Regions from separate parts of the Homo sapiens genome. Here regions 1, 2, 4, 5, 6 and 7 are each linked to region 3. Evidence: promoter capture Hi-C in human tissues and cell types (Jung and others, 2019). All regions are on one chromosome and are shown on one strand. The core of a region is centred on a gene start or on the middle of the fragment in contact, and the rest is flanking DNA. Distances in the headings are between cores, read along the strand shown. Region 1 overlaps ZNF174 (zinc finger protein 174). Region 2 overlaps SRL (sarcalumenin). Region 3 holds the start of TRAP1 (TNF receptor associated protein 1). Region 4 holds the start of TIGD7 (tigger transposable element derived 7). Region 5 overlaps ADCY9 (adenylate cyclase 9). Region 6 has its middle 50 kb from the start of ADCY9. Region 7 has its middle 14 kb from the start of ADCY9.

Region 1 (3,890 bases), core at 1,007-3,506, 310 kb after region 3:
AACTATGAGCAACAAATTTCTGTTGTTTATAAATTACCTAGTCTAAGGCAATTTGTTGTAAGAGCCTGATCAGATTAAGACAGACCCCTGATCAGATTGACAGACCCCTACCTCAAAACCTATATAAAAATTGACTTGTTTATGTATGGGGAAAAAATAAACTTAAAATGGACCAAATAGCTGAAAGTAAGAGCTAAATCTATGTCTCCTTGAAGAAACCATAGCTGTACATATTTGTGCCCTTGGATTAGGCAGTGCTATTTTACATATGACACCAAAGCATAAAGAAAGAAAAAAATAGATAAATTAGACTGCAGCAAAATGAAAAACGTGTGCGTCAAAGGACACTGTCAAGAAAGTGAGACAACCCACAAAATGAGAGAAAAGATTTGCAAATTACACATAAGGGTCTAGTATCTAGAATACATAAAGGACTCTTATAAAAAATAAAGACAAATAACCTAATTTAAAAATGACCAAAGGATCTGAACAGATATTTTTCCACACAAGATATGTAACTGGATAATAAGCACATGAAAAGATGTTCAACACCATTAGTCACTAGGGAAATGTAAATCAAAACCTCAAATCAAAATTTCTCACCGAATAGGATGGGTATAAGACAATAACAAGTGCTAGCAAGAATGTGGAGAAATCGGAATCCTCACACAGTATTGGTGGGGATGTAAAATGGTGTAGCTGCTTTGGAAAACAGTCTGGTAGTTCCTCATAAGTTAAACATGGAATTACCACATGACCTAGCATATGGTAATTCCACTCCTAGGTATATACTCAAGAGAAATGAAAACATGTCTACACAAAAACACACATTTATAGCAGCATTCTTCATAATAACCAAAAAGTAGAAACAACCCAAAAATCTATGAACAGATGAACCAACATGAACAGAAAACCAACATGTAATATATCCGTACAATGCCTATTATTCAGCCACAGAAAAGGAATGAAGCACTGATTGATGCTACAGCATGGATAAAACTTGAAAACATGCTCAGTGAAAGAAGCCACACACAAAAGACCACATATTGTGTGATTCAATTTATTTATTTATTTATTTTTGAGACAGGGTCTTACTTTGTCACATAGGCTAGAGTGCAGTGGCACGATCTCAGTTCACTGCAGCCTCGACCTCCCAGGTTGAAGTGATCCTCCTGCCTCAGCTCCCCCAAGCAGCTGGGATTACAGGTGTGCAGCACCATGCCCCGCTAATTTTTGCATTTTTTGTAGAGACAGGATTTCGCCATGTTGCCCAGGCTGGTCTCGAACTCCTGAGCCTAAGTGATCCGCCTGCCTTGGCCTCCCAAAGTGCTGGGATTACAGGCGTGAGCCACTGTGCCCGGCCTGTGTGATTCCATTTGTATAAAATGTTCAGAATAAGCAATTCTAGAGACAAAAAGTAGACTGTGGTTGCCAGGGGCTAAATGTTTATGTTCCTCCAAATTCATATGAAATTCTAACTCCCAAGGTAATAGTGTTAGGACATGGGGCCTTTGGGAGGTGATTAGGTCATGAGGGTGCTGCCCTCACTGGAATGGGATTAGTGCCTTCATGAAAGAGCCCCACGGGAGCCTGTCTTCCCCTTCTGCCACATGAGGACTGAGAAGTAGGCAGTCTGTGACCTGGAAGAGGGGCCTCACTGGAACCCAACCATGCTGGCACCTTGAACTCAGACTTCCTAGCCTCTAGAACTGTGAGAAATAAACTCCTGTTGTTTATAAACTACCTAGTCTCTAGCATTTTATATTAGCAGCCTGAACAGACTAAAACACGAAGTACCTCATTGGATGTAGCAAATATTAAGAAACTGAGGATTTTTGTCGTCTTGTAACCCTCCTCCCTAACGTGCTCACTGTATCTTGTATTCACATCACCAGGCTTGGCCAAAATGTCACTGTCATTCAGGCTTAGAGATCACAGGACTGTGTAGAACAAGGCCAGCAGTTACACAAGTATCACACCAGAGAAAGGGAAATAGATTTGAGGATCTAAAGTACAAGCAACATCACAGAGGAGGACAAAGATATAAGATATAGGGTGGGTTTTTATTTCTACCAGGCCCCTCTAAACAGAGGAGCATTTTAAGCAATGAAACTCAGCCATAGCTTGCATGGAAGTTCATCTGTGGCCATATTTGGATCTGTCTTTTCTATAAGAAGTTCTGAAACGGACAGAAAAGTAGGTACAACCCTGTCATGCACTGGATTCTTAAATTTTCATTAACAGAAAACGATAAAAACATACTTACTTGTAGTATCACCACCATCCTAATTAGTGAAATTTGTTTAGTGAATAATCATCTACTATTATATATAACATTTAAAAAAACACACACATGTGGTCTATGCCTTTGCAGAACCATGAGATACATTGATGGAGATAAAGGGCTGATGAGAGGGAGAGAAAAGGCAGAGTGTTTACCTGTCCCAGCCAATTTGGGGGTTGGTTCTTGGAGGAGTGGGGATTTCTCCCAATGATGGGGGCTCAGCCGGTCATAAGCTCCTGCCTGGGAAGGCTCTGCTGGAGAGCTCTCCCTGAGATCTCTCCTAGGAGTCTGCGGTTGAAAGTCTGGCAGTTCCTGTTCTCCAAGCTGAGATCCAGTTTTCTCCAAGAGCACCTTTTGCCCCTGCATACAAACGGCCACCTAGGAACAAGCCCCATCCATTAATTCCATCCATCAGGACTGAGGGAAGCTTGATCTCTCACTGTTGTATAATGACCCGTTTACCTTGGGAATTGCTGATAACCATCTAGAGGTCAACTTTCATAGAAACCACTGAAACCCTCAAAGGAAGTAAAGGGGAGAACGTGAAGAATGACAGGAATGAGGATGCTACAAATCAGCCGAGTGGCTTCCCCTAAAGCTTGGGCCTTTCTCAAGGGCCAGAGTCAAAGTCATCAGGGTAGTTGCTGGCACAAATATCAGGGTCAGTCACAACACTGGGCCATCAGATGCCTACTCTACACACCACCCCCCACCTACTTCTGCTGGAAATAGGCCCTGTAGGAACAGGAAGCAGTATGGTGAGGGGCTGTTAAAAGTCCTTCTTACCTAATACATTGTTCTGCCAAAGGCTTTCCTGGTAAGGAGATCCCAGTAGTAGTAGGGGTCTAAGAGGACCACCCCACCTTCATTCCCTAACAAGTTCTATTTTCCGAAGTACCTGCCGTTTGCTTCTTGCCTAGGTCCTGACTGGGGTCTGACTTCGGGGCGGGGAGTGGCAAGCAATGGCAACGCTGGCCAGTTGAACTGTAACTTCCTGATCCAAAGACAATAAGCTAGTCAGGCATTGTGTGGCTCACTCCTGTAATCCCAGCACTTTGGGAGGTCAAGACGGGCGGATCGCCTGGGCCCAAGAAGAGTTCAAGACCAGCCTGGGCAATGTGGAGAAACCCTGTCTCTACAAAAGTACAAAAATTAGCCACGCATGGTGGCATGTACCTGCAGTCCCAGCTACTTGAGAGGCTGAGGTGTGAGGAACACTTGAGCTGGACATGGAGGTTGCAGCGAGCTGAGATCGTGCCACTGCCCTCCAGCCTCAGCAACACAGTGAGACCCAGTCTCAAAAAAAAAAAAAAAAATCAAAGACAAAAAGCTAGGCCAGGTGTGGTGGCTCACGCCTGTAATCCCAGCACTTTGAGAGGCCAAGGCGGGAGGATCACTTGAGGTCAGGAGTTCGAGACTAGCCTGGCCAACATAGTGAAACCCCCTCTCTACTAAAAAGTACAAAAATTAGCTGGGCGTGGTGGCAGGCACCTGTAAACCCAGCTACTCAGGAGGCTGAGACCTGAGAATCGCTTGAACCTGGGGTGCAGAGGTTGCAGTGGGCTGAAATGGCACCACTGCACTCCAGCTTGGGAAACACAGCAAG
Region 2 (3,682 bases), core at 792-3,291, 500 kb before region 3:
GGGACAGGGTCTGTAAAAAAAGAAAAAGAGTAAGGGGCAGAACCCAGCTTTCCTGACTTCCAGGTGCATTCAGAGAGACCAGCCACTATCTAGGAGGCTGGAGCCTCAGCCCCAGGAAGAAAGAAAAGGCATAGCCGTGGGCCTGGCTCAGGCTAGGGAAGGTGTCACACCCATTTCCCAAGCTCCCACGTTTCTCAAGAAGATTCCCTCCAGCTTCCCTGGATTGGGGATGGGGTGGGCCCAGATTCCTTGACCCCTTCACCTGCCAAGCTGGAGATGGCTCTGACTTTAACCCAGGATAGCTGTTAGACTGAGACCTGCGGGAGCCACGCTCCCTTGGCTTCCAGTAAGTCTTTTCCTGTCTGGGGCCCAAAAGTTAGACCAGCACCTCATCCCCACAGATCCCAGGGAGATTGGATTTCTTCGGACTGGGATGTGGGGGGAAGCCAGCCACCTGCCTTGGTCTGTCTCAGAACCCAGCCTGCATCCCTTTCCCCTTCCTTTCCCTTTCCTCCCCAGCTCGGCCCCTCTGAAGGGAGGCAGCAGGCCCAAGGCCTTCTGCAAGGATTTCTGTTCACTGCAGGCACGGCTGATCTCTGGAAAAACTGAGTGCTCTATAGAGTATCCCTGCTAGTGATTGACTCATACTGAGGGGTTAGGATATAATGTTTTGCTCTTTCTGAGGTATTTGTCTTTTTAAAGTGAATAGTGGCTGGGCATCGTGGCTCATGCCTATAATCCCAGCACTTTGGGAACTTGAGGCGGGTGGATCACTTGAGGTCCAGAGTTTGAGACCAGCCTGGCAAACGTGGTGAAACCCCATCTCTACAAAAAATACAAAAATTAGCCGAGTGTGGTTGCGTGCACTTGTGGTCCCGGCTACTCAGGAGGCTGAGGCAGGAGAATCGCTTGAATCTAGGAGGCAGAGGTTGCAGTGAGCTGAGATTGTACCACTGTACTCCAGCCTGAGTGACAGAGATGCTGTCTCAAAAAATAAATAAATACATAAAATAAAAATAAAATAAAATAAAAGTGAATAGTCATTTATACTGATGACTCCTCCAGGCATCAGTGACAAGCATGTATATATATGATGGTTGTGGGATTTCTGGTAATTTCTTTCTACCTCCCAAACCAAGAATTCCCAGGAATTGGAGGTGGGGTGAGGAGTGAAGTTATTCTGTCAATTCTCAGGACTCTATGGGTTAAAAACAATTGTGCTGAAGTCTTAATCCTTTTTTTTTTTGAGACAGGGTCTCCCTCTGTTGCCTAGGCTGGAGTATAGTGGTGTTATCAAAGCTTATTGCAACTTCAAACTCCTAGGCTCAAGAGGTCCGTCAACCACAGCCTCCCCAGTAGCTGGGACCACAGGCGCACGCTACCATGCCAAGCTAATTTTAAAATTTTTTGGAAAGATGGGCCAGTAGTAAGACAAAGCAAGTAGTAAGCAAGACAGAGGTCTTGCTTTGTTACCCAGGCTGGTTTCAAACTCCTGGGCTCTAGGGATCCTCTCACCTCGGCCTCCCAAAGTGCTGGGATTACAGGTGTGAGCCATGGGCTCTCAGAGCCACTGCGTCCAGCCTAAAACAGTTGTTATTGAAGAGTAGAAGAGGGTGGGCTAAGAAATCACTGTCCTAGGGTAGACTTAGACCCTCTTATTGGCTGGCCCACTGCTGGGAGAGCGTCCATAGAGAGCTGAGTTCTAGAAGCAGACTGCTGCCTACTACCTTAACTAGCCCCATGGCCTTGGGACAAGCACTTACCAGGGTTTTGGGGTTTTGTTCATGAGTGAAATCAAGCCAGTTGGTCTATCAGAAGATCTCTCTGGACCCCCAAATCCCAAGGTTCTTTCTGATTGCTACCTTTGTCATTGTACCCTGTCATACTTTTGTCATTGTATCTGATTCCCTGGATGAATCATTTTAAGGGCTAGAGTCCAGCCAGGGACAAGCTGTCCCAGTGGGATTAGCCTTGACTTTAGGAGCATGGCCAGGAAGCCAAAGAAGCCTTCCAAGAATGGCTGCCTCAGCCCCTGCACTCTGGTCGCCCATGTTGGGAGAAGAGGGAAAGGCTGAGAGAATGGCAGAAGAGGACCTCAGGGGTCCTGGGAGAATGCAGACAAGCCTTCCTCCAGCCAGAATTTCTCTTCTCGGGTCCTTATGGGCAACAGCCTTCTGCAAAGTTGTCCTAAGACTTCATCTAAGAAGTGGAAGAGGCCGGGTGCAGTGGCTCATGCCTGTAATCCCAGCACTTTGGGAGGCTGAGGCGGGTGGATCACCTGAGGTCAAGAGTTTGAGACCAGCCTGGCCAACATGGTGAAACCCTGTCTCTACTAAAAATACAAAAATTAGCCAGGAGTGGTGGCAGGCACCTGTAATCCCAGCTACTCGGGAGGCTGAGGCAGGAGAATCGCTTGAACCCAGGAGGCAGAGGTTGCAGTGAGCCAAGATCGCACCACTGTACTCCACCCTGGGCGACAGAATGAGACTTCGTCTAAAAAAAAAAAAAAAAGTGGAAGAGCAAGGGGTCCTGAGCAGTGAATGTTTACCCAGTAGGATAAAGTCAAGGAAAAACAGGACACCAGAAGAGGCTGCTGGCCCACGTTTGCCCGGTCCACGAGTGTTCAGAGACAAGATCTAGAACAAGGAAGGGGGCAGGCTGCCTGCTCTGCGGCATGAACTCTGTTTTCTGAATTGCTCCCTGCTGCACTTAATATACAGCCAATGAGAGCCAAAACGTGGGGCGGGGGGTGGATGGGGGCAAGACATGGGGCTCACATGTATGCCATGGCTGGTGCTCCTCACTCTCTGGGACAGATGAACCAGGCAGAGATTTGGAGAGTGATTCCTGCCCCCGCTGGGGATTCTGTTACTAATGACTGATTTGCATAACTGTGTATGAGTAATGGTCAGAGGTATTTTACTTACGCATGACTTTGGACTTGCTAGCTCTAGTTCAAATGGATGAGAAGTCATGTGGAAGAATAACCTTGGCAGGTACTTGTTATAAACATGTGCTAAGGAGACTTGGACGGGCTGGAATAGAATCTACATTTGATTGCACGAAGGCACTGAATACATTCAACACCCAGAGGTGGGCTGAAAACAGGTCCTGACCTCTATTCTCTCCATCTCTAGTTTCAACTTCAAGACAGAGCTTCCTGGCCCTTGGTACTGAGGATGGCTAGTGCAGAGGGTCCGAAATGCTGGTGTTCTGTAGAATCCCCTTGTGAAACACACAGGTACACGTTGACCCAGCCCCAGAAGCTGGGTATCTGGGCTTGAACAGCTCAGCAGGTCATGGTCGCTCCCAGGGAGCTTTGTTCTGTCTCTTGGCCTGAGTTCCAGCCCATCCCTGGAATGACTTGTGAGGCAAACGACTTGACTTCCGTGTGTTTGTTTCCTCATTTCAAGAGAGGTTAACAACCCTTGCTTTTTCTGCCTCAGAGGGCTGCTAGGAGCATCAGAGAAGAATAAGCACAGGAAACTACCTTGGAAAGATGGAGTCCTACGTGAGGGCAGGAGATGACCCAGCTGAGAGCCTGGCACGTGTGGACTGGCAAAGTGAAAATATGCTGTAAGCGTGGTTCACACCTGTAATCCCAGCACTTTGGGAGGCTGAGGTGGGAGGATCGCTTGAGGCCAGGAGTTTGAGACCAGCCTGGGCAACATAGCGAGACCTC
Region 3 (4,086 bases), core at 367-2,866:
AGGGTGGTCATCTATGAGACTTCCTCTACATAATAAGAACCTTGGTCTTCACAACCTGTTTTTTGTTTGTTTGTTTGTTTGTTTGTTTTGAGACAGGGTGTGGCTCTCTTGCCCAAGCTGGAGTTCAATGGCACGAACTTGGCTCACTGCAACCTCTCCCTCCTGGGCTTAAGCAATCCACCCACCTCAGCCTCCCTTGTAGCTGGGATTACAGGCCTCCGCCACCACATCCGGTACAGGTATGTTTGGTACAGACAGGGTCTCACCATGTTGCCCACGCTGCTCTCCAACTCCTGACCTCAAGCAATTCGCCCACCTCGGCATCCCAAAGTGTTGGGATTACAGGTGTGAGTCACCGTGCTCGTGCCCACAACCCCTTATCTTCACCCAGACACTCTTTTTATTGATTCCAGGTCTGTATAACTCAACTCTTTTTTTTCTTTTTTTTGTTTTCTTTTTTTTTTTTTTTTGAGACGGAGTCACAGCTCTGTCGCCCAGGCTGCAGTGCAAGTGGCACGATCTCGGCTCACTGCAACCGCAGCCTCCCGGGTTCACGCTATTCTTCCGCCTCAGCCTCCCCAGGAGCTGGGACTACAGGCACGTGCCACCTTGCCCAGCTAATTTTTTGTATCTTAGTAGAGATGATGGGTTTTCACCATGTTGGCCAGGCTGGTCTCGGACTCCTGACCGCAGGCAGTCCGCCCACCTCAGCCTCCCAAAGTGCTAGGATTACAGGCGTGAGCCACCGCGCCCAACCAGAACTCAACTCTTTTAACCAATTGCCAATCAGAAAGTATCTGAATCCACCTATGACCTCTAAGTATTTCACCCTTTGAGTTGTCCTGCCTTTCCACACGGAACCAACCTATGTCTTACATGCATTGACTGATGTCTTATGTCTCTCTAAAATGTATAAAACCAAGCAAGCTGTAACCCAAGCACCTTGGGCCAAGTTCTCAGGACCTTTTGAGACTGTGCCTCCCTCCATGCACACTCATATTTGGCTCAGAATAACCTTCTAAATACTTTAGAGTTTGACTCTTCTCGACAAGGACAAGAGAAGTGGAATAAACGAATAACCGCAGTTTTCCTGGTGGTATTGGTCACTGGGTTCAGGTTTTGGAGTAGTAGCCAGTCAAGCCTGGAATCCCCTTCCTCATTCGCTTTAGCTTTTTGTCCAGTCTTGGTTTGCAAGAGACTTGCAGCGGCCTAGACGGATGGCCGGGATTCACAAAGGTCGCAGACACGGGAACTGCTTCTTCCCCAGCGTCGCCTCCACACCCTCGCGTGGATACTGACATCCGCCCCATTCCAGGAATGCGCACAGCTAGGCGCAGCCGGCCAGCGTGGGCCGGGGGCGGCGGGGCCACCTCCCCCACCTCCGCGCGCAAGGCCCGTCGCCCTTGACAACGCGATCCAAGGTCACGGAGGTCCCACCCCCAGGCCCGACCGTCCACGAGACGGGTAGTACCCCGCCACGCGCCCGAGCAGGCAGCTGCCCGGACAGCCCGGCGCCCGCCGTGACGTCACCGCCCCGCGCCCGAGGAAGCCCCGCCCCGCGCAGCCCCGTCCCGCCCCTTCCCATCGTGTACGGTCCCGCGTGGCTGCGCGCGGCGCTCTGGGAGTACGACATGGCGCGCGAGCTGCGGGCGCTGCTGCTGTGGGGCCGCCGCCTGCGGCCTTTGCTGCGGGCGCCGGCGCTGGCGGCCGTGCCGGGAGGTGAGGGCGTCCTGGCTGGACGGGCAGCGGGCGGGCCGGGCCACGGAGACGGCAGGGACGTCCCTGTGCTCCGGGGAGCGAGGCGCCGGCACCTGCTTCACAGGCGTGGGAGGTCCGGCGAGGCCAAGCGCGGCAGACGCGTTTACTTTCGCTCCGCTCCTCGCCAGCTCCAGCTTGGCTGCCTTTTCCTCGGCTGGACTCCCCTCGCCACCCGCCCATGGGAGCCCTGAAGGAGGCTGGGTCTTGGGGGGTCGCGGGGTCGGGCGGAGCGGCTGCGGGGTCGTCCCTCCTGGAGCTTCGGTCCAGTCAGGTAGCGCACGTGCAGGTGGAGCCGCTGCGGAGCGCGGAGTCTTTGCGGGTGCATGTTGCGGGGAATGGACTCACTCGGGGTGATCGTGCTAGTTCCATGGATCGTGCTTTACCCCTCCCCGCCTCCCAGTAGCGCACTGAGGGTTCATTTGTTAATTCGTTCATTGGACGCACATGTGAGCGCCCGCTCAGTGCCCGGCGCCGTGCAGGTTCTGGGGACGCCACAGTGAACAAAACCTATAGCAGTCATCCGGGTCCCCAGAGCAGGTGGACTCGATGTCGTTGACGCAGCTGTGTCCTCGGGGCCTGGAATTGATGGATGCGCCAATAAATGTTTGTAAAACAGAGAGAACGACCCTAACCTCTGCTTTCCCAGTCCCCACTCGGAGGTAACAACAGTGAAAGTTTCGGCATTGCTTCGGGGCTGTACACAGTGTTATACGTGTAAATATAAATGTCTGCGTATAAGTATTTTTTATTCTAAAAAGCCTAAACCATGTATGCATTGTGCTACGTTGTACTTCAGAAAATTTTAACGCTCCCAGCATTCTTTCCACATCTTTTCATGTCAGTGTATACAGGTCCATGTGCCTTCCAGTGACCACACAGTATTCTGTATGATGGACGTGTCATTTGTTTAAACATTGTCCTATTAGTGGACGCAATAAAGGTTATTTCAGGTTTTACTTTTTATTACAATGCTGCATAGAATGGGTGAGTACTTAAATATTTGTTCACGTGCGGTATTTCTTTAGCCTTACATAATTAGAATTTTAGAATTGATATTTCAGAGCCTATGCATTTTTGAAATGTTAGCAGATACTGCCAAATTGTCCAAAAAGGCCTTATCAATTTATATCCCCTTTAGCAGGCATCAAGACTGCCTATTCCAAAGGTATTTTCTTCAACGCTGAATCTTATGTCTTTTCAAAACCAGTGGTCTATAAAAGATACCTTGTGGCCGGGCGCGGTGGCTCACGCCTGTAATCCTAGCACTTTGGGAGCCTGAGGTGGGCAGATCAGGAGTTCAAGACCAGCCTGGCCAACATGGTGAAACCCTGTCTCTACTAAAAATACAAAAATTAGCTGGGTGTGGTGGCGCGCGCCTGTAATCCCAGCTTCTTGGGAGGCTGAGGCAGGAGAATCGCTTGAACCCAGGAGGCAGAGATTGCAGTGAGCTGAGATTGCACCACTGCACTCCAGCCTGGGCGACAGAGTGAGACTTCATCTCAACAACAAAAATAATAATAATTTTCCCTCAGAAAGTGATGCTGTTGCTCTCTTCTAGCACCAGTGTCTGATCAATTATTTATTTATTTTTTTGTCTTTATGAGGTGGGGTTTCACTATGTTGGCCAGGCTGGTCTCCAGTGCCTGACCTCAAGTGATCTGCCTGCCTTGCCCTCCAAAATGCTGGGATTGCAGGCGTGTGTCACCGTGCCTGGCCAACTGTTCTGTTAATTTGGTTCTCGTTTCTTTTGTAGCTGACTCGGGTTTTTTCCCCCTTGGAGGTTAAGATTTTTTCTCTTTGTCGTTTGTGGTCTCGCGTCCACAGGTGTTTGTGATTCATGCTTTGTATCATGCACTGTCCCTTCCATTTGGAAAATATGTCAGTTTTCAGCCCAGGGACATTTTAATTCTGTTTCTTTATCTCTTTTTCTTTTTCTTTTTTTTTGAGATGGAGTCTTGCTCTGTCACCCAGGCTGGAGTGCAGTGGCGCGATCTTGGCTCACTGCAAGCTCCGCCTCCCGGGTTCAGGCCATTCTCCTGCCTCAGCCTCCCGAGTAGCTGGGACTTTAGGCGCCCACCACCATGCCTGGCTAATTTTTTGTATTTTTAGTAGAGACGGGGTTTCACCCTGTTAGCCAGGATGGTCTCGATCTCCTGACCTCGTGATCCGCCCACTTCGGCCTCCCAAAGTGCTGGGATTACAAGCGTGAGCCGCTGTGCCCAGCCCTTTATCTCTTTTTCTTAAAAATTGTCTCTCTCCTCTCGTCCTCCATCTTCTGGTGCGGTGGTTCAAGCATTCCTCTGCCTGAGTCTAAGAAATGGAACATGT
Region 4 (3,931 bases), core at 371-2,870, 410 kb after region 3:
AACCCGGGAGGTGAAGGCTGCAGTGAGCTCAGACTGTGCCACGGCACTCCAGCCAGGGCAGCAAAACGAGATTCCATCTCCAAAAAAAAAAAAAAAAGTTATTTAAAACTTATGAACTGTTTATTTCTGGAGTTTTCCATTTAATATTTTTTGGATGGCAGTTGACAGCGGGTAAGTGAAACCCAGATACAGTGGGGGGAGGGGGTACTACAGAAAGTAAAAAAGTAGCCTATTTTCAGACAATGTCTCCCAAGTAAGCAACAAGATGCTCATCATTCTTTGCAACACACATAAAGGGTGCCATGCAGATGATTTATACGAATTTTGTTTTTTTTTTTGAGATGGAGTCTCGCCCTGTCACCCAGGCTGGAGTGCAGTGGCGTGATCTCAGCTCACTGCAACTTCCACCTCCCCGGTTGAAGCCATTCTCCTGCCTCAGCCTCCCGACTAGCTGGGATTACAGGCGCGTGCCACCATGCCCGGCTAATTTTTGTGTTTTTAGTAGAGACAGGGTTTCACCATCTTGGCCAGGGTGGTCTCGATCTCCTGACCTCGTGATCCACCCATCTTGGCCTCCCAAAGTGCTGGGATTACAGGCGTCAAACACCGCGCCAGGCCTATATGAATTTTTAACTGTGCTTACTTGATCTGGAGAAAATTACAGCTGACCTCTGTTTACAAAATATCAACTTGTAAAAAAGGATATTTTATTTACAAAATATCAAGTCGTATTTTCTTTCTGTCGCTGATGTTTATGAAATATCAACTCCAACAGGAGTTGGTGACGATGAAAGTGAAACTTTCTGCTGACTTTGTATTTCTCCAAAGGTCATTTAGACTTCTAAGGGGGGCTGAGGAGAGCCGTGAGCCTCACTTTTCCTGAAGTGAGCCAGCAGAAACGGCACCGAAATTCTGCCCAGGATGCCACCGGTATTCAAAGAAGTGGCCAGCTCCTTGCTGCCCACCCCGGTTCCAGAAGCAAAGAGACACTTCCTATGTTTTTGCATCAGTAGAAGCTGCTAGCCCTGAGGCTCAACCGACCGCATGACATCGGCCGGACACGGAAATGCCGGCGGAGGCGGGAAAGAGTCTGCGGGCGCAGCTGCAGGCACTGCTGCCCGCCAGCACTCGGATTCGCCACAGCCTGTGTCTGCGACAGGCGTGCCCGTGGGCACTGGGCAAGCGGGCAGTGTCCCAGCGAGCTTCAGCCGCGCCTCTGGGATACAGCTGCGAAAAGCGGGGAGAGAATGGTTTCTCGTGCCCGACGGTGGCCCCGCCTCAGGCTCCAGCCGCGCGGCCCGGAAGCGCCGCGGCCACCGCCTACGGAAAATGGCTGCCTCCCTGCGGCCGCCGCCGCTCCAGCGGCTCCAGGGTCGAAGCCATAGGGGAAGCCGCTTCTCGGTTACCTCGGCCAGCTTGGCTTCCGTGGAGGCCGCTCCTCGCTTTCTGAGGCTCAAACGCAAGCCACCGCCCGAAAGGCCGCCGATCTGAGGAGCGCAACCGCCAGCCCACCGCTGGCCTACCGCAGCCCTGTCCAGGTACAGAGCCAGAGCGCCGGCCGGAAGTGGAAGTGACGCTTTCCGAGGGTGGCGCAGGCCCGCCCTCTGGCTAAGGCGCCTGAGCCCGGCCTACTTCCTCGCCAGAGAAACTGCTGTCTTCCCCGGCGGTAGGGAAGGGTTAATGCCACCGAGTATCCAGACCCGCTGAAGCCTAGAGGGCCTTGTACCGGCTCACCGCGTGGCTGTCGCTGTCTCGTGTCCCCAGTGGGGGAGGCGTCGCACTGCCGCGTCTGTTCTGCGTGGCTGTCGGGCGGCGTTTGGTCCCGGGAGCCTCGCCGGGTAAGGGTCGCCTCCCAGCTGCGCGCGCCGCGTTCTCGGGCTTCCCGCGGCCCGGCCGGCCGTGCTCGAGCTGTTGCTGGGCTCGTCGCCGCCTCCTCGAGGAAGAGGCATTTTGTCCGGGTCGGGCCACTCGCTAGGTCAGAAACAGCGGCCCCCCGAGGGTTTTGTACCGTTTTCTAGGTCTCGTGACGCATTCCCCACAACTATTTTTTCTTGAGGTAGGTTTGAACCTGTGAAATAGGTTCTTTTTCTATCTCTCCTTGACAGAGAAACGGAGACCTAAGAAGTGACTTGCTCAGGGTCACATAGCTCAGCAGTGGCGGCCGCTAATCGGAAATAGCTCTCCTGTTGTGGTATCCTCTGCGTTTTCCACTCCAGTATTCTTCCCTGGAAAATGGGAACCTTGTTTTCATCTTATATCTCATGCAGCGCCTAACATAGTCACCTGGTAAGATAGGCATTCCACACATATTTACTGAATCATAGTTATAAGAATCTGAGTGTTTTGGGTGTTCAGTGATCTCTGAATTAATCCGTTTTTGTAATGTCAGTCTGTACCAGTTGAGGGATTATTTAATAAGTCCAGTATGAGTGGTTTCGGAATTACCAGTTTTTGTAACGTCAGCTTATACCAGTCAAGGGACTATTTATTAAGTCAGCTATGTGTAGCCAATATTGCAGAGTTGAGTAAGAAGTCTTTGTCCTTAAGCAATCTCTTGAAAGGACTGAGCAATTTCGTGAATATCAGTAACACAAGGGTAAGAATAGGACATAAACTGAATGCTGTGAGAACTCCAAGAAAATCCAAGTTGATTTGGGGTTGGGGGAAATTATAAAAGACCTTGAGGGATTTTGTCCACAGCAGGGAATGGAGACACTTTCCAGGCAGAGGGAAGGGTAGGAGTAAAGGCTTTAAAAGCTGGAAACATTAGACTGTGAGATCTTAGGTACGTTTTTACTGAGTTGGGCTGCATTTAGAGGAAGAGTTTTAAAAGTTAGAAAACGAGTTTATGTGGCACTTATACTGGAGTCCTTTGAATGGGAATGAAAAGAGTGCATTTAAGAAAGTAAATCCTGGCCGGGCGCGGTGGCTTACGCCTGTAATCCCAGCACTTTGGGAGGCCGAGGCGGGCGGATCATGAGGTCAGGAGATCGAGACCATCCTGGCTAACATGGTGAAACCCCGTCTCTACTAAAAAATACAAAAAAAAATTAGCCGGGCGTGGTGGTGGGCGCCTGTAGTCCCAGCTACTCGGGAGGCTGAGGCAGGAGAATGGCGTGAACCCGGGAGGCGGAGCTTGCAGTGAGCCGAGTTCACGCCACTGCATTCCAGCCTGGGCGACAGAGCGAGACTCCGTCGCAAAAAACAAAACAAAACAATACAAAAAAGTAAATCCTGGAGCACCATTTGAGCGTTTTGGACTGAGCTGCTTTCTATGGCAGTTCATCTAAGGTAAGTTTAAGGTGAGAATGAAGATGAGAGGCCATTACCAGGCCATTATGCTATTTTTGCTTTTGGATGGGATGGTATGTAACTCCTCTTAGGCATAGATCTTGATCCTTTTTAAGTGAGAGAGAAAGATAAACAGATTTAATAATGAGCATCTGCCTAAGTCACTTGAATTTGTGTCTAAGTAGGTTCATTTCCTTAAAATCTCAGCCAGGTTGGGACTTCATTTCTTCAGCAGTAAATATTCTCAGTCTATCAGAACCAGTGGACAGTAGCGCCATCAGCATTAAGATTCTCATCACCTGGCCCAATGCTGAATATATAATTAGAATTTATTAAGTTGAATAAGTGAAGTTCTGCTAGCAGTGCTAAGCAGTGCCCTTGGATATCATTGACAGGCCTGATTCATAACACAGGAAGTTGGTTAAAGGGAAAAGGGATTCATGGGAAAAAGAGGCAGCAAGGCACAAATTGTGAATAGTGAATAAGAGGCACTGGTGATTTTCATTGTGTGAGGTTTGCTGCCATAGTGGCTTATCCTTTGAAGCCCACAAACATTCCTTGAGCCTTTCCTTTTGGTTTCACCTCCCCTTGCTTGGGCACTGTTTTAGAAATGATGACTGTGGCTGGGCGCAGTGGCTTA
Region 5 (4,074 bases), core at 607-3,106, 380 kb before region 3:
CTGAGGCCAGGTGCATGGCTCACGCCTGTAATCCCAGCACTTTCGGAGGCTGAGGCGGGCGGATCACTTGAGCTCAGGAGTTCGAGACCAGCCTGTCCGACATGGCAAAACCCCGTGTCTACTAAAAATACAAAAAATTAGCCAGGCGTGGTGGCATACGCCTCTAATTTCAGCTACTTGGGAGGCTGAGGCAGGAGAATCGCTGGAACCTAGAAGGTGGAGGTTGCAGTGAGCCCAGATCGCGCCACTGTACTCCAGCCTGGGCAACAGAGTGAGACCCCATCTCAGAAACAAACAAACAAAAAAGATGCTACCTGAGACTGAGTAATTTATAAAGAAAGCAGGTTTAATTGGCACAGTTCTGCATGGCTGGGGAGGCGTCAGGAAACTTACAATCATGGCAGAAGATGAAGGAGAAACAAGGCGCATCTTAAATGGTGTCAGGAGAGAGAGAGAGTGAGAGAGAGAGCATGCGAAGGGGGAACTGCCACTTTTAAACCATCAGGTCTCGTGAGAACTCCCTCACTCTCACGAGAACAGCATGGGGGAAACCACCCCCATGATCTAGTCCCCTCCCACCAGGTCCCTCCCTCGACACATGGGGATTACAATTCAAGATGAGATTTGGGTGGGGACACAGAGCTAAACTATATCAACCTCCCAGGGTCAAGTGCTCCTCGTACCTCAGCCTCCCTGTGACTGCACATGTGCACCACCACGCCCAGCTGATTTTTTCAAATTTTTGAGAGAGACAGGGTCTTGCCATGTTGCCTAGGCTGGTCTCAAACTCCTGGGCTCAAGCCATCCTCCTGCCTTGGCCTCCCGAAGTGTTGGGATTACAGGCGTGAGCCAAGGCACCCAGCTGAGATGGTTTCTTAACGTCCTCCAAAGGTGATTTTTTTCAAGAATCAATATAAACTCTTGGATTTTAGCTTATTTGATGTATTTCATTCCATTACAGATACATGATTTTTGATGCTCAGATTGTCCCATTTGGGGCCCATGGGAGCCCCTTTAAGTTGGCTGCTGAGTCCTCTTCATGCAACCCCAGTGGTCTTTGATAACTTTCATACCCTTTTAGTAACCTTTTTAAAGAGTTGAGAAATTATAGGTATTAAAATCTCATTAATTCTGTTTGTCTGATATGTTTATTCAGAGAGACTGAGCTAAAGTTTACCCTCATCTTTTTTGAAAAGAAAATGAATAGTATATGCATGTTTCTATGAGGAAATAATGCCACCCAAGAAACGGTTTGTGCATCTTCGAGTTCCTTGGAAGCTTTAATTTGCATTCCTACAATTGAGAGCAATGTAGAATTTCTTTCTGTATCTTCCCACTAATGCCTGTTGAGGGGCAGGTGTCTGTGAATGTAGGTAAATCGTGATAAAAAAACAATAAAAAGGCCGGGCGTGGTGGTTCACGTCTGTAATCCCAGCACTTTGGGAAGCTGAGGCGGGTGGATCACTTGAGGTCAGGAGTTTGAGACCAGCCTGGCCAACATGGGGAAACCCTGTCTGTACTGGAAATACAAAAATTAGCCGGGTGTCGTGGCGCACACCTGTAATCCCAGCTACTCGGGAAACTGAGGCAGGAGAATTGTTTCAACCTGGGAGGCAGAGGTTGCAGTGAGCTGAGATCACACCACTGCACTCCAGCCTGGGTGACACGGTGAGAACTCTGTCTCCAAAAACAAAACAAAGCAAAACAAAACAAAACCAAAACAATAAAAAAAAATCCCAAACCAAAATGTAGATGACCTGTTTGCAGACTGAGGAGTCCTGCAGCAAACTCCATCCCCCAGGACAGCTGCGGAATGTTCTAGAAGGCCCAACTCTAGGAAATCCCTTAGTAGGAGCCTTGCTCTCAACAGTGCCTCCTGGAACGATGGGCCGGCCACTCTCTTTTCCATCTTGCATCATATGTATTTGACTTATTTTGTTTATAATCTGTTTCCACGCCACTGGAATGTATCTTAAGAGCAGGAATTTTCCATGTTTTACTTCCTGCTGTGTTCCTAGTGCTGGGAATATAGCCAGGCATATAATACATGCCTGATAATATTGGCTGAATGAATGAATGAATAAATGAATGAATATTACAGGCCAGACACAGTGGCTCATGCCTGTAATCCCAGCACTTTGGAAGGCCGAGGCGGGCGGATCACCTGAGGTCGGGAGTTTGAGACCAACCTGGCCAACATGGTGAAACCCCATCTCTACTAAAAATACAAAAATTAGCCGGGCTTGGTGGCGTGCACCTGTAGTCCCAGCTACTCGGGAAATTGAGACAGGAGAATCACTTGAACCCGGGAGGCAGAGGTTGCTGAGATTGCACCACTACATTCCAGCCTGGGTGACAGAGTGAGATTCTGTCTCAAAAAAAAAAACCAAAAACAAAAACAAAACAAAACAAAAAATCCCAAACCAAAACGTAGATGACATGTTTGCAGACTGAGGAGTCCTCCCCCAGCCCAGCAAACCCCATCCCTCAGGACCGCTGTGGAACATTCCAGAAGGCCCAACTCCAGGAATTCCCTTAGTAGGAGCCTTGCTTTCAACAGTGCCTCCTGGAGCTATGGGCCAGCCACTCTCTTTTCCAGCTTGCATCATATGTATTTGACTTAATTTTGTTTATAATCTGTTTCCACGCCACTGGAATGCATCTTAAGAGCAGGAATTTTCCATGTTTTACTTCCTGCTGTGTTCCTAGCGCTGGGAATATAGCCAGGCATATAATATATGTGTGATAATATTTGCTGATAAATGAATGAATAAATAAGTAAATATAAGCCTGGTATGGTGGCTCATGCCTGTAATCCCAGCACTTTGGGAGGCCAAGGCAGGCAGATCAGCTGAGGTCAGGAGTTCAAGAACAGCCTGGCCAACGTGGAGAAATGCCATCTCTATTAAAAATACAAAAATCAGCTGGGCATGGTGGTGGGCACCTGTAATCCCAGCTACTCGGGAAGCTGAGGCAGGAGAATCTCTTGAACCCAGGAGATGGAGGTTGCTGAGATTGCGCCCCTGCACTCCAGCCTGGATGACAGAGCAAGACTCTGTCTTAAAAAAAAAAAAAAAAAATATATATATATATATATATATATATGTACATATGTATTTATACATATATATAGTGTGTGTGTGTGTATATATATATATATATATATATATATATATATATGTAACTCCACATGTGAGTACCCTGTTATGTGTGAAACCACACCCCAAACATCTACACAGAACAAGCCTCCAGGTAGAGGAAAGGCAGTAACCGCTTTGCTGGAATGACTGAGTGGTTCATTAAATAGAGGCTCCGGAGGGTCTTGATAGGCTCTAGCAAAGGTGGTGGCCGAGAGGGCTGACCAGCGCATGGTGCCTGGGAATGTGAATGGGCCCAGGGGCGCCAGAGTGTGGACAGCTTGGGACTGTGGGCTCCGAGGTGCTGCGCTGAGGGCGTGGGGCGCAGGGCAGAAACACAGAGGACTGAGTGCTTAGGGGAGGCCCAGGAAATGTGGGGTTGAACGGCCTAGTTCTGGCAATTGTTTTTAAGCTTTGTAAGATGGAGATTTCAAGAAGTATATTTATCTTAATAATATTGTAGCTCCTGGTAATTCTTATTTGATTACCATTTATACACATGGAAAACCAGCATGCCTGTTTCTGGCAAAGCTCCAGGGTAGTCTTTGTGCATAATTTCCAGGATTTTTATGTAATGCTATTAAAATCTGTTCTTTTTTTTTTCCCCCTTCCAAAGCGGGGAAAAAGCAGCTTTTGAATCATTTATTTTCGTGTTTGAGTTGTTTGGGAAATATTAACTACATTTTCTAACACTCTAGCCTGGAGAAAGGAAGAAACCCCACATGCGTGTGATTTATTTCCTTGTGTATGGATATTAAATGCAATATACCATTAAGGCTATGACACTTTAAGTGAAAGTGTTTATTGCATGTTGATTCAGTTAGTTCGTACCCTATTGTGTTACTATTTAAAGTGTGGATTGCATCGCATTCTGGAACTTCATAAATGAGTTCTTTTTCCCATAAGGAAAGGCCACTGCTTCTGATGTTCATTAATG
Region 6 (3,511 bases), core at 51-2,550, 450 kb before region 3:
CACTACTACACTCCAGCCTGAGCGAGAGTGAGACTCCGTCTCAAAAAAAAAAAAAAAAAAAAAAGTGGAATCCAAGATGATCAGCAAGTCTAGAGGATGGGGAAGAAGATGGCAGGATCATTAATAGAAATATAGTCATGCATCGCTTAATGATGGGAATACGTATGTTCTAAGAAATGCATCCTTAGGTGATTTAATCATTGTACAAGCATCACAAAGTGTTCTTACACAAACCTAGATGGCACAGCCTACTACACACCGATGCTATATGGCAAGCAATACAAACCTGTACAGCAGGCTACGGTGCTGAGTACTGTAGGCAATTGTAATGTAATGGTATGTATTTGTGTATCTGAACACATCTAAACATAGAAAAGGTACGGTAAAGATACTGTATTATAAGCTTATAGAGCCACTGTTGCAGGCTGGGCGTGGTGGCTTATGCCTGTAATCCCAGCACTTTGGGAGGCTGGGATGGGCAGATTGCTTGAGTCCAGGAGTTTGAGACCAGCCTGGGCAACATAGTGAGACCCCTGTCTCTACAAAAATACACAAATTAGCTGGGCATGGTGATGCATGCCTATAGTCTTAGCTACTCGGGAGATCGAGGTGGGAGGATTGCTTGAGCCTTGGGAGGTCGAGGCTGCATTGAACTGAGAGTGTGCCACACTGCATTCCCACTCCAGCCTGGGTGACAGAGTGAGACCCTGTCTCAGGAAAAAAAAAACACCGTTGCATACGCAGTTCATCATTGACTAAAACATCAGTATGCAGTGCATGACTGTAAATCCCAGGGCTAATTCCGTGGTGACAGGAAGGGCACCAAGTTTCTGTGTGGATTTCAAATATTCTGTATCCTCAGGCTTTGTTAATCCATGTCTTTTGTCTTCAGAGAAGTCAGTTCCATCAGCAAGGAGCCGTCAGGGCCACCCAGCTTTATGCCTTGACTCCTGGTTACTGTTTTGAGGCCTAAGAACAGCTGAGACCCTGCACGTGTTAAAATCCAAATGGGGTGAGGGTGAGGGGGTCAGAATCACCACCAGCCAATGTCAGCATCTGGAGCTGAATACAGAGACCCCTCTTGGCCAAATGTTCCGGGCAGCATCCATGTGCAGGTCGGGTTGACTTTTTGGACGCTGCCTAGGAGCTCACGCAGACGGTCACACTGCAATGTCGGTGGGGCTGTGAGCAGTCATGGCACCTCCGCAGCTGTTCCTGGGCCTATCTGCTGCAAATTAGATCATTGGTCATTCATATTTTTCCTTCCCTATCTCTCTTTACCCATTCTGTTTCCAACAGGTGATGATAATAAAGGTGGTTTCATGGAAAATATGGGATCTCTGTAAAGACAAGACCCCGATCTGCGAGTGTGGCTTGCTAAGTTGGGTAATTTATCTGTTGACACGCTTCTCAGTCACTTTTTCACCTTGGTTTCTCCAGATGGCTGGGGCTTGATCACTCAGAGGAGGAGGGAACTTCTTTGTGGTTCTGTTCTTGCCCATCTCAACACAACAGTCGACATCAGACACATAATCAAGAGCTTCAGCAGGAGGGATGGCCAAGTTGGATGCTTTCCATCAGGGCCATTCCAGCTGTGATTCTCTGTGCTGTGGGAATCTGGTTGAGAGGGACATCAGAGAGATGACAGCGAGGAAGGAACCTTTTATACTAGGTGTTAAGGGATGGCTGGGACTGGATTAAGTAGACAGGAGAAGGGAAGATCTTCCAGGCTTGGTGAGAGCTGAGCAAAGCCATTTGGGTTTGAATCAGCATGGTTTATTTACGGAGTGTGAGGCGGCTGGCTTGGACCATGGGAGGTGTTGCTTCTTAATCTAAGAAAATGGGCCAGGCGCGGTGGCTCAGGCCTGTAATCCCAGCACTTTGGGAGGCCGAAGCGGGTAGATCAGTTGAGGTCAGGAGTTCCAGACCAGCCTGACCAACATGGTGAAACCCCATATCTACTAAGAATACAAAAATTAGCTGGGTGTGGTGGTGCATGCCTGCATTCCCAGCTACTTGGGAGGCTGAGGCAGGAGAATTGCTTGAACCCGGGAGGCAGAGGTTGTGGTGCACTGATATCACGCCACTGCGCTCCAGCCTTGGCAGCAGAGCGAGACTGTGTCTCAAAAAAAAATAATAATTTTAAAAAAAAGAAAAAAAAGAAAATGACTCCCTGCCCTCCACTCTTCCTTCTCCCTTATATTAAAGCTTAGGATTTCTGAACTTTTGCCCCTTCCTAGGGGTCCAGATGAATTGTAGGGAACCACCCTTTCTGGCTTGGCGTCAACCTCAAGGGCACATCTGTGGGATGCTGTTTTCCCTTTAAGTTTACTCCTTGCCTCCCAGTCAATGTCCTTTCCCTTGCCCTTACCTGTTTGCTTTAAAAAGCACTATTTTTTTTTGTTGTTGTTCAAGCGATTCTCCTGCCTCCTGAGTAGATGAGGATTACAGGCGTGTGCCACCACACCTGGCTAATTTTAATATTTTAGTAGAGACGGGGTTTCACCATGTTGGCCAGGCTGGTCTCGAACTCCTGACCTCAGGTGATCCGCTTGCCTTGCCCTCCCAAAGTGCTGGGATTACAAATGTGAGCCACTGGGCCCAGCCAATTAAAAAGCACTATTTTTAACCAAGGAGCTTTACTTGCTTTGTTTTCGTTTTTGTAGACAGATGCAGCATTAAAGATGAATGCATTTGAATGCCATCACTGTCATAGTTCAACATTTGACCTCTCTTTGGCAACCAAACTATATTTTATATATTTTGTTGTTGCACATTTTCTAGAGGAGCATAGGAGGATGGGGCTCATTTTTGGTCCTCATGGCTTGGAGAGCTTTCCTCTTCATGCTGGTGGGCCACACTTGTCTGGAGATTCTTTCCTCTTCTTTGAATCTGGACTACAATAGGACAAATTAACTTCAGTGGTCATACAAGTCATGAAGAAATGAATTTAATAGTGTATCAGTTAGGATTCTCTTATGACATGTACCCCAATGATCTGGAAGTAGTTTAAGCCAAAGAGAATAATTTATTTAAAAGATTCAGGGACATATGAGATCTAAGGCCGGGAATACAACTGTGTCTCAGGAAGGGACTTTAAGTAGGAAGAGGAAAGCCATCAAGAAGCCAGGCATCCCCTCAGTGTGCTTGCTGCGACGTGCACTCTGTGCAGAGTGGCTGTCCCTGCTTCCAGACCACCCAGAAGGCAAGAAAGGGCCAGCCTGAGACCCCCAGTTTGTAATCCCCTTCATTCAAGAGAACAGCCAAGGCCGGGTGTGGTGGCTCATGGCTCATCCAAGCACTTTGGGAGGCCGTGGTGGGAGGATCATTTGAGCCCAGGAATTTGAGACCAGCCTGGGCAACATAGTGAGACCCCACCTCTACAAAAAATACAAAAAATTTAGCTAAGCATGGTGGCACATGCCTGTAGTTCCAGCTACTCGAGAGGCTGAGGTGGGAGGATTGCTTGAGCCTGGGAAGTCAGAGGCTGCAGTGAGCAGTGATTGTGCCA
Region 7 (3,836 bases), core at 523-3,022, 410 kb before region 3:
TGGCTCTCAACCAGGGAGAACGAAACTGCAAACAAGCATTCCCTTTTCAGCATCGCACGATTTTGCAGCACTTCTTGCTTCGTGTGGCCTTCCCTCTCTCCAACTGTGGTCACCGATGGGCTTCTAGTAGCAGGTGTGGTGAGGGACAATGAAGTGCGGACAGCCTGCATTGAAGCCCCACGGCCCAGGAGCCAGGCTGCCCCAGTGCCGGCCCTTCCTGGACCCTGTGTGGGACAAGCCTGAACCTCTGAGCCCCGCTGGGACTACTTACCCGGGATTGTTCCCTCAGGTGGCATAAATGTGACTGGATCACCGCCTTCCAGATGTTAGAGCCTCAGGTGACACGCATCTAATTTTAAAGCCTTCCAGCTGTTAGAGCCTCAGGTGACACGCATCTAATTTTAAATTGCATGGTGGTAAATAACAGACGCAGGTCCTGACTGTGAGGGGAACACAGGCGAGAGATCAGCTCTTTCATCTTGGGGAAGTGAATGAAAGCCTCACTTGGCAGCTTTTCTTGGAGTCATTCCCGCGATGAATCCCATCTCAAGAACCTCATATTCCCATCCCTGAAGATTCACGGCTAGAGAGGTACATGCAAGAGGGGTAATTGTGCAGGGTGAGGGGTGTGGTGGGGAGAGCCAGAAAAATGACTGTGCAGTGGAAGTAGAAAAAGATATTTTTAATTTAAAGTAACAAATACCCTTTTTTTTTTTTTTTGAGATGGAGTCCCGCTCCGTCCCCCACGCTGGAATGCAGTGGTGCAATCTCGGCTCACTACAACCTCCGCCTCCCAGGTTCAAGTGATTCTCCTGCCTCAGCCTCCCTAGTAGCTGGGATTACAGGCGCACATCACCACGCCTGGCTACTTTTTGTATTTTTAGTAGAGACGGGGTTTCACCATGTTGGCCAGGCTGGTCTCAAACTCCAGACCTCGGGTGATCCACCCGCCTCGGCCTTCCAAAGTGCTGGGATTACAGGCGTGAGGCACCACAGTCAGCCACAAATACACTTAATTGATCTCAGATAAAAACTACTGAGGGAAGGTCAGTAATCGTTTTAGCCCCTAATCTATTAGAACTTTATCCTGAGTAGCCTTGAGGATGGGTTAGCTGATTCTTTCCATCAGTTCCCACCATCCACAGTGTTAGAAAAAACAAGGCATTGTCTCAGTTTAGGACAAAGGCATGGCTGGCAACCAATTCCAGTCTCTCGTATTCTGAATTTTTTCTTTAACTCTTCTACTTTGTTGACGTAAGCTTTAGCTTTCATGGGATCTTCCCTGGCAGCCCCTTTCAGCTAATTCCAGGGATCTCACTTGGCTTTGCCCTTGAAGTCCACCATCCTGGGCCGTTCTGTCTTTATGTTGCCTACAGTCGCTCGTTTGTAGTGGCCGTAGAGGAACCGCATCTCATCATCTGCTGGCTTGGTCTTAAAGTGCTTAATACCCTGCACATCTTTTTTTTTTTTTTTTTCTTCCCAGCTCAAGTGATTCTCCTGCCTCAGCCTCCCGAGCAGCTGTGATTACAGCTGCATGCCACCCATGCCCGGCTAATTTTTGTATTTTTAGTGGAGATGGGTTTTGCCATGTTGGACAGGCTGGTCTGGAACTCTTGACCTCACATAATCTGCCTGCCTTGGCCTCCCAAAATGCTGGGATTACAGGTGTGAGCCACCACACCCAGCCCTCCACAGCTTTCTGAAACTCAGCCTGAGACTGGCTTGCAAGGACTCCAGGGAGCCAGCGGAGGAGGCAAGGAGCAGGAAGCGATTACTAGGACTGCACTGGCAAGTGCCTTTAGGAGAGGCGCAGCCCCACGCTCTCCAACCCTGCTCAGGAAATAGAAATTTAAAAATAGTGTTTCTCAGGCCAGGTGCAGTGGCTCATGCTTGTAATCCCAGCACTTTGGGAGGCCGAGGATGGAAGACCACTTGTGTCCCAGGAGTTGGAGACCAGCCTGGGCAACATAGTGAGACTGCGCCTCTTCCAAAAAAAAAAAAAAAAAAATGCTGGGCATGGTGGTGTGCACCTGCAGTCCCAGCTACTCAGGAAGCTAAAGTGGGAGGATTACTCGAGCCTGGAGAAGTTGAGGTTGCAGTGAGCTGTGATCGTGCCACTGTACTCAGCCTGGGTGACAGAGTGAGACTCTGTCTCAAAAAAAGTAAATAAATAAATAAATAAATAAATAAATAAAAAGCTTTCCTTGCAGGGGCAGAATTTGGAATGACTTTCATCCTGACCTTTCAGCCTGGCCCTACCTACCGACCCCTTTGCCTGCTTGTCTAGCCCTGCACCTCTGGCTTGGCCACTTATCTGCCCGGGCCACACCACGTGCTGTTTCTCACAATGCACCCTGCTCCCTGGCCCACAGTGCCTTTCTTTCTGGAACTCTTTCCTCTTAGCCCCATGGCTGCCTGGCAGGGTCCTACCACCTCTTTCAAGACACCGTTCTCACCCTTCCTGTATCAAAGATGCTTTTCCAAATCTGCTCTGTCCACATGAACCTCCTGTCTTTCTGCACTCTCCCGGGTGCCTTTCTAATAACACTCACCATGCCTGCTCCGTTCTGAGCTGCGGGAAGTCTGTGCGCTCTAGGAAGGCAGGTGGTGGTTGTTTTCCACTTGCATGTTCTTAGGCTTATGATTTTATTTTCATTATTATTATTTAGAGACAGAGTTTTGCTCTGTTGCCCAGGCTGGAGTGCAGTGGTGCAATCATAGCTCACAGCAGCCTCCAATTCCTGGGCTTACTTGATCCTCCTGCCTCAGCCTCCTGAGTAGGTGGGGCTATAGGCAGAAACCACCAGACCTAACTAAGTTTTTTTTGTTTTGTTTTGTTTTGTTGTTTTTTAATTTTTTAGTCCGGGCACAGTGGCTCATGCCTGTAATCCCAGCACTTTGAGAGGCTCAGGTGGGCAGACCACTTGAGGTCAGGAGCTCGAGACTAGCCTGGCCAACATGGTGAAATCCCATCTCTACTAAAAATACAAAAAATTTAGCCAGGCGTGGTAGCACACGCCTGTAATCCTAGCTACTTGGGAGGCTGAGGTTGGAAGGATGGCTTGAACCCAGGAGGCAGAGGTTGCAGTGAGCAGATACTGCACCACTGCACTCCAGCATGGGTGACAGAGTGAGACTCCATGTCAAAAAAAACAAAAAAAAAATTTAGCCGGGCATGGTGGCACACACCTGTAATCTCAGCTACTTGGGAGGTGGAGGTTGTAGTGAGCCAAGATGGTGCCACTGCACTCCAGCCTGGGAGACAGAGTGAGACTTTATCTCAAAAAGAAGAAAAAATTTTTTTTTGTAGAGATGGAGTCTTGTGTTGTTGCCCAGGCTGGTCTTCAACTGGCTTCAAGCAATCCTCCTGCCTCACATCCCAAAGCACTGGGATTATAGGCATGGGCCACCATGCCCAGCCTATTATTACTAATTGTGGTAAAATACACATACCAGAAAGTTTACCACCTGGATTAGCTTGTTAGGGCTGCTATATCTAAGTATTGGTGATGAGGTGGCTTGAACAACAGAAATGTATGTTGTCACAGTTCTGTTGTCACTGACAGCACAGTGTGGACGGGGTTGGTTTCTTCTGAGGCCTCTCTCCTTGGCTCATAGATGGCTGTCTTTTCTGTGTCTCCTCACCATCTTCCTTCTGTGCCTCTGTATGTCCTAATTTCCTCCTCTTTTTTTTTTTTTTTTTTCGTTGAGACGGAGCCTCACTCTGTTGCCAGGCTGGAGGGCAGTGGCTTGATCTCGGCTCACTGCAACCTCTACCTCCTGGGTGCAAGTGACTTTCCTGCCTCAGCCTCCCCAGTAGCTGAGACCACAGCTAC

The links. The method cuts DNA at HindIII sites, captures the fragments that hold promoters and counts their contacts. A contact is called where the count stands out against the background at its distance.
Region 1: a contact is called between a fragment that was not itself captured here and the fragment with the promoter of TRAP1 in region 3, in 1 of the 25 tissues and cell types used here (lymphoblastoid cells).
Region 2: a fragment that was not itself captured here is called in contact with the fragment with the promoter of TRAP1 in region 3 in 2 of the 25 tissues and cell types used here (aorta and mesenchymal stem cells).
Region 4: a contact is called between the fragment with the promoter of TIGD7 here and the fragment with the promoter of TRAP1 in region 3, in 1 of the 25 tissues and cell types used here (small bowel).
Region 5: a contact is called between a fragment that was not itself captured here and the fragment with the promoter of TRAP1 in region 3, in 3 of the 25 tissues and cell types used here (dorsolateral prefrontal cortex, liver and lymphoblastoid cells).
Region 6: a contact is called between a fragment that was not itself captured here and the fragment with the promoter of TRAP1 in region 3, in 4 of the 25 tissues and cell types used here (IMR-90 fibroblasts, hippocampus, lymphoblastoid cells and 1 more).
Region 7: a contact is called between a fragment that was not itself captured here and the fragment with the promoter of TRAP1 in region 3, in 3 of the 25 tissues and cell types used here (adrenal gland, dorsolateral prefrontal cortex and lymphoblastoid cells).

The regions. Positions count from the first base shown.
Region 1 is chr16:3,403,198-3,407,087 of GRCh38, reverse strand. It overlaps ZNF174 (zinc finger protein 174), which reads right to left. Exons shown (of 3, transcript NM_003450.3): 2 at 2,440-2,662. Among named protein-coding and RNA genes, the nearest start is that of ZNF174, 3.9 kb to the right of the region's middle. The HindIII fragment of the contact is 3,410 bases long and covers 552-3,890 here.
Region 2 is chr16:4,213,600-4,217,281 of GRCh38, reverse strand. All of the region lies in intron 1 of SRL (sarcalumenin), which reads left to right. Among named protein-coding and RNA genes, the nearest start is that of SRL, 27 kb to the left of the region's middle. The HindIII fragment of the contact is 4,807 bases long and covers 1-3,682 here.
Region 3 is chr16:3,715,054-3,719,139 of GRCh38, reverse strand. It overlaps TRAP1 (TNF receptor associated protein 1), which reads left to right and starts at 1,616. Exons shown (of 18, transcript NM_016292.3): 1 at 1,616-1,719. The coding sequence starts at 1,632. RefSeq lists silencers at 1,266-1,875, 1,896-2,015. The HindIII fragment of the contact is 28,184 bases long and covers 1-4,086 here.
Region 4 is chr16:3,303,119-3,307,049 of GRCh38, reverse strand. TIGD7 (tigger transposable element derived 7) reads left to right here and starts at 1,620. Exons shown (of 2, transcript NM_033208.4): 1 at 1,620-1,838. ZNF75A (zinc finger protein 75A) reads right to left here and starts at 1,553. Exons shown (of 7, transcript NM_001302109.2): 1 at 1,407-1,553. RefSeq lists an enhancer at 1,530-2,059. The HindIII fragment of the contact is 22,904 bases long and covers 1-3,931 here.
Region 5 is chr16:4,096,560-4,100,633 of GRCh38, reverse strand. The region is part of intron 2 of ADCY9 (adenylate cyclase 9); the gene reads left to right. Among named protein-coding and RNA genes, the nearest start is that of ADCY9, 18 kb to the left of the region's middle. The HindIII fragment of the contact is 5,701 bases long and covers 1-4,074 here.
Region 6 is chr16:4,165,150-4,168,660 of GRCh38, reverse strand. No RefSeq gene overlaps it. Among named protein-coding and RNA genes, the nearest start is that of ADCY9, 50 kb to the right of the region's middle. The HindIII fragment of the contact is 3,313 bases long and covers 1-2,956 here.
Region 7 is chr16:4,128,200-4,132,035 of GRCh38, reverse strand. It overlaps the pseudogene DBIP3. Among named protein-coding and RNA genes, the nearest start is that of ADCY9, 14 kb to the right of the region's middle. RefSeq lists enhancers at 1-194, 195-696. The HindIII fragment of the contact is 5,808 bases long and covers 1-3,836 here.